Linked DNA regions of Homo sapiens: region 1 is linked to region 2. Evidence: promoter capture Hi-C in human tissues and cell types (Jung and others, 2019). All regions are on one chromosome and are shown on one strand. The core of a region is centred on a gene start or on the middle of the fragment in contact, and the rest is flanking DNA. Distances in the headings are between cores, read along the strand shown. Region 1 overlaps CBX7 (chromobox 7). Region 2 holds the start of APOBEC3H (apolipoprotein B mRNA editing enzyme catalytic subunit 3H).

Evidence for each region. Contacts are between HindIII fragments. The study calls those that stand out against the background at their distance.
Region 1: a contact is called between a fragment that was not itself captured here and the fragment with the promoter of APOBEC3H in region 2, in 3 of the 25 tissues and cell types used here (aorta, mesenchymal stem cells and spleen).

What each region holds. Positions count from the first base shown.
Region 1 is chr22:39,131,720-39,134,419 of GRCh38, forward strand. It overlaps CBX7 (chromobox 7), which reads right to left. Exons shown (of 6, transcript NM_175709.5): 5 at 2,682-2,700; 6 at 1-2,329. The coding sequence ends at 2,172. Among named protein-coding and RNA genes, the nearest start is that of CBX7, 20 kb to the right of the region's middle. RefSeq lists enhancers at 1-268, 1,908-2,592, 2,593-2,700. The HindIII fragment of the contact is 4,160 bases long and covers 1-2,700 here.
Region 2 is chr22:39,095,887-39,098,586 of GRCh38, forward strand. APOBEC3H (apolipoprotein B mRNA editing enzyme catalytic subunit 3H) reads left to right here and starts at 1,358. Exons shown (of 5, transcript NM_181773.5): 1 at 1,358-1,457. RefSeq lists enhancers at 480-1,679, 1,002-1,889, 1,220-1,559, 1,890-2,700. The HindIII fragment of the contact is 18,686 bases long and covers 1-2,700 here.

The DNA.
Region 1 (2,700 bases), core at 87-2,586, 36 kb after region 2:
ATCCACAGACCCACAGATTGCGCAAATAGTTCTTTGAAAGTGACCAGGAAGCAGGAAAAAGGTCCTATGTCCCCTGGGGGATGGGGAGCGTGACTTCTGCTGGAAGCTGCCAGCCATGTTCCAAAGTCATGGGCCAAAACATTCAACTAGAGACCCCCCACAACCCTCTATCATCTTTACCTCCGCTGGGCACCCCTCTCCTGGAAGAGTCCCCTCTGAACCCCAAGCTTCCCCTTCCCCTCCACAGGGCTCCACAGCTGGAGATGGGTGGTGATTCCTGCCGCTCCTTGTCCAGACCCACCCCACGTATTCCTCTAGATTCCATTCCCTGGGCTGGAGGTGAATCAGGTCATCCCGGAGGGGACTGTCCCCCAATGGAAGCACTGAATTGACCGTGGACAACTAAAGATCGAGGAGGAAGGAAAGAGAGACTCAGGGATCTGGGAAGCCTGTCAACAGAGCACCCCATGCAGAAAGGGCTGCAGGCTGTCTTTGGTTTGGGAACCAGGGAAGAAGGGATTTGGGGAAAGAATCACCCTCTCCTTGCCTCAGTAGACTCTGTGACTTCCTGAGGACACAGAGCAGAGCTGCGAGGAGGGCGGGCAGGTCTCAAACTTGCTGGCCGCACTCCACTCTTGGTGTGTGTTACCCTGACTCTGACAGCCAAGGAAAGACAGGGGAGCCGGCCTTTTCCATGCTCCCCTTGGGCCCCCCAATCTGGTTTTGTCTCCCCTACAGGACTGGAAGAGAGGGAGAAGTCACTCCTCACTGGCAGGGAAGCCACGGGCCCCCAGGACACCTTGTACAAACCAGAAAACAAGTGCACCTTGCCAGGGGTGGGCTGGGGCAAAGCCTGCCCATCACACAGCACAGCCTGACCTCAGAGAGGCACGGCAGAGGTCCCTCCACAGGAATACAGCTCAGCCCCAGCTGTGGCATTTAGGTTGGATGGGGAGGGGATGCAGAATGGAAGGAGGAAGGGGCTTAGGAGTCAAGGGCTGCCCTGAGAACGTGGTGGGACACTCCCTCCCTCCCTGACTGCCCACACCTGGGTTGGCTGAGTTGGAGGGGAGGGCAGAAAAAGAGGGGAATTGGAAGGGCTGAAAAGTCACCTGAGTCAGAAAGAACAAGAACCCCTCACGGGAGGAAGGACAGGGTCCAGACGTCTCAAAGCCTGTGCTGATACATCACACAACTTAGCAGACGCCTGCACACCCGCAGCCTGGCCCGGTGCAGCCGAGAAACCACATCTGTATGCCTGGAGCATGGGGTGCCATCGCACCTGTGCCAGACCCCTGCCCTCCACTGAAAGCCGCAAGCAGGTAGCAAGGTGCATGCAAGGTGGGGTGAGTGCAGGTGTGGTGGTGAGGTCTTTTGTGCTGTGAATCACCCCACGTTCGCCTGGCCAGGGTTTCTAACCCAGGTTCGCAAGGCCCATGTGGACACGTCTGCAGCCACACATGCTTTCACGGGGCACATGGGAACGTACACGCGAAGGGTAATGCGTGCACACCTGTGCAGCCAGGTGTGCATGAGCGTTTCTGCACAGGCCAGGTGATGAGGGGAGGGCAGAGCTCTCAGCAGAAGGGTCTCAGCGGCGCCTCCTCCCTGGGAAGGATAGAAGCCTCTCTGAAGGGGAAGGGACTCGCCCCAAGTAACCTCAACCCTTCCTCCTGCCCCTTCCTCCCGCCCCACTCACTTTTGGTCAAAACCAGCCTCCACAGCCCACCGCAAAGCCAGAGAGGAGAGTTCAAGGTAAAGACCCAATTGAAACAAGAGAAAAGGGGAAAACCAGCCAACCAGGCTGGGGTGGCCACTCAAGGGAGAGGGTTTGGGCCTTCCAATGCTCCTTTAACTCCCAGAACCAGCTGCTGCGTCACTAGAGGAGAATGATAATGGTGGTGTCCCGGGCAGGTGATCCTGTCCCCATCCTGCCCTGGGGGTGGTACCCCAACTCCCAGAGCAACTCTCTCCATCCCCAGCCTGAGGCCTCGTGGTAAACGTCCCTCAGAGAAAGGGCAGGTGGTGGGAGAGTAGTGGGATCTTCTCCCCTTTTGCTGCTCGGTATTTTTTTAAATAAAATAATTACCCCGCCCCCAACCCATCCCTATCTCTGGAAGTCCCACCCCAAGCCCAAAAGAAAACAGTTTAAGAAGAGTAAAAACGGTGATTCAGAACTTCCCACTGCGGTCTCGGAAGAAGCCCTCAGCTGCCTGGGCCTCGCGGAAGGTGACGGTGATGGAGTTGGCGGTGATGTCGGTCACGGTCACCTCACTTGAGGGGAGCGCAGGTGTCCAGGGAGGGGGCCCCTCGGCCAGGTCGGCATCTGCTGCAGCGTCAGACACACAGATGGGGGCAGCGTTGACAAGGTGGGAAGCCATGCAGACCACCCAACCCGACCCCAACTCCAGCTCCTCCTCTCTGTGTCTTCAGTCAGCTCAGGGCCTCACACAGGGCTGGACACTTGGGAGGAGGGCACTGGGTGCATCCTCCCCACCTAGACAAGAGCTCAGCCAGAGCGGGACGACAGGAGGAGCCCTGGGCTAGTGTTGGGCCCTGAGCCCAGACCCGACTGGCCCCACAAAGCACTACAGGCCCTCTTTGGACATTGAACCAGCTGGACCTTATGACCCATAGGGCCCTTTCCAGCTCTGAGGGTCTCTGGGCTGGGGCCGCCTTACCCTCCTCTTCAGGGGGCTG
Region 2 (2,700 bases), core at 108-2,607:
GGGATTACAGGCGTGAGCCACAGCACCTGGCCTGGCTCTTTGGTGTTTATGATCTGAAGGGTGTTGGTTGATATGCATGAAGACGAGGACATGGGTTCCAGAATGCAAATGTGAAGTCCAGGTCCTTCATCTCTGACCTGGGAGGCCCTTTAGGAGCAGTAAGTCCCCTCCCTCGTGTCTCCTCTCCTGCTCCTTTCCATGGAGCAATGAAGAACCTCAAAGTAGCTAGCTGTGGGGGAGAAGGGACACAGGAAGTCCTGGCCAGCACTCCAGCTCTGCTGTTGATTTGCTGTGTGACGTGGGGACAGTATCTTAGCCTCTCTGTGCTTGGGACCTCCTCTGACTGTCAGGATCACTGCCCTCCCCTCCCAGTGCTATCTGGGGACTGGGCTAGATAATGGGCACTGGATCCGCTGGAGATGCAGTCCTGAGCCTGACCCCAGTGCTCATTTCACATCAGGCTCAGGGTCCTGCCAGGAGGCTGAATGCCAAAGGTCAGTGGGGTGGTGGGGAGGGGGCTGCAGCCTGCCCTGTCCACCAGGGGAGTGGCATCTGGTCTATGGTGTCAGCCCTGGTCTGGATCCCTGCTCCTTTCTGTGGCTTCTATTCCTTTCATTTATTTTAGTTTAGTTTAGTTTTTGAGACGGAGTTTTGTTCTTATTGCCCAGGCTGGAGTGCGGTTGGCCAGGTTGATTTTGAACTCCTGACTTCAGGCAATCCACCTGCCTCAGCCTCCCAAAGTGCTGGGATAACAGGCACCGTGACCAGCCATCAATTCCTTTCTTTTTTCTTTCTTTTTTATTTTTATTTATTTATTTATTTTTTGAGACAGGGTCTCGTTCTGTTGCCAGGGTGGAGTGCAGTGGTGCGACGTCGGCTCACTGCAACCTCTGCCTCCAAGGTTCAAGCAATTTCCCTGCCTCAGCCTCCCAAGCAGCTGGAACTACAGGCGCAGGCCACCAAACCTGGCTAATTTTTTGTATTTTAGCAGAGACGGGGTTTCACCATGTTGGCCAGGATGGTCTTCATCTCCTTACCTTGTAATTTGCCCACCTCAGCCTCCCAAAGTGTTCGGATTACAGGTGTGAGCCACCGCATCTGGCCTTTGTTCTTTTGTAAACTATACCTGGGGAGGGAGTTGAGTCTGGCTGTACCTGGAGAGGGAATTGGGGGTGGGAGGATGGGAGGTGAGCCACCTCCATCAGACTTCCCCTGCCAAGCCCGAGGAAATAGAGAAAGAAAGGAGCCTGAGGGATCTGAAGCACCCCAGGGCCCTCCCACTCCAGTCCCACAAAAGGAAGAGGGTGGAGCCACCCTCATCAAGCAGTGACTTTTTGTGACTTTTGGGAGAGCTGACCTTTTGTGACTTTTGGGAGAGCTGCCAAAAGTGAAACTTAGTGCCTCAGACAAGCAGGGGCAAGTCTGCTAAGGAAGCTGTGGCCAGAAGCACAGATCAGGTACTGCCGCCCACTCTGTCCACTGGGCCCTCTGCTGCCACTTCCTGCCTGGCAGCCCTTCTGTGCCTCAGCCCTGGCCTCCCGCTGCCCCAGCCCCAGCCCTGGGCTCCTTCTCCTCTGGCTCCCCTGCCATCCCCACTCCCACCCAGGCTCTTTGCCCTGCTGTGTGGTCACCCCACTGCTGCTTCTGAACGGGCCGCCTCCCCGGCCTGCACCAGCCCAAGACCCCTGCTGAGACTCTCCCCTAAGAGTCATGGCTGGGCTAGTGCTCCCCACCTTGGGAGGGTGCTCTCTCTGTGTGCTTCCTGCCATTCCTGGGCTCTGGAACTGGGAGAACTGAACTAAAGGATGATGGGAGCAATCTGGAATTTTGTTCACAGTGCTTTGATGAACTTTGTGTAAGATTACTTTGTTTCAATACAAAGTCTTAGGAGAGGGTGTGGGGAGGCAATGATCTCTGAAGCACAAGGCAAATCATCTCTTCCAAGGATGTCTCCACTGTGGGCAGAGGAGGATGCAGATGACCCTGAACACACACTCCTCCTCCATGATCAGTATTCACATTCACCGTTTATAATGACACCAGTAACACGGAATATACGGAAAAACTCAATGATCAGGAGAAATGCTTTTATTTTAAAATTTAGGAAGAAGAGAGCCTGGTTCCCAAAGGCTCCCTCCTGCAGGGCCCGTGATGCAGAGGCTGGCAGGGCTGGCCAGGAAAGTGGCCCAGCTCCATGGCCTGGGCAGGTTACCCCACCTCTCTGCACCTCTGGCCCCTCCTCTGTAAGATGAGAATGGCCCCTGCAGGCCTAGGGCAGCCTCACGTGAGCTCAGATCCTCTCAGCACTTAGAAGAGTGGCCTGGGCCTGGGGATGGAAGTGCTACCCTGATTTTTTGTTTCGTTTTGTTTTTTTGAGAAGGGGTGTCTCAGTCTGTTGCCCAGGCTGGAGCGCAATCTCGGCTCACTACAAGCTCCACCTCCTGGGTTCACGCCATTTTCCTGCCTGGCCAGGCAAAATGGCTCATGCCTGTAATCCCAACACTTTGGGAAGCTGAGAGGGGAGGATCATCACTAAAGGCCAGGAGTTCCAAACCAGCCTGGGCAACACAGGGAGACCCCCTTATCTACTAAAACTAAAAAAATAAAATAAAATAACATGAATAGGTAAAATGCCAGGAATTAATTGAACTGAAATATTAAGAGCTCTTATTTTGAAGGGGAGAATTTTATTCACTTTTC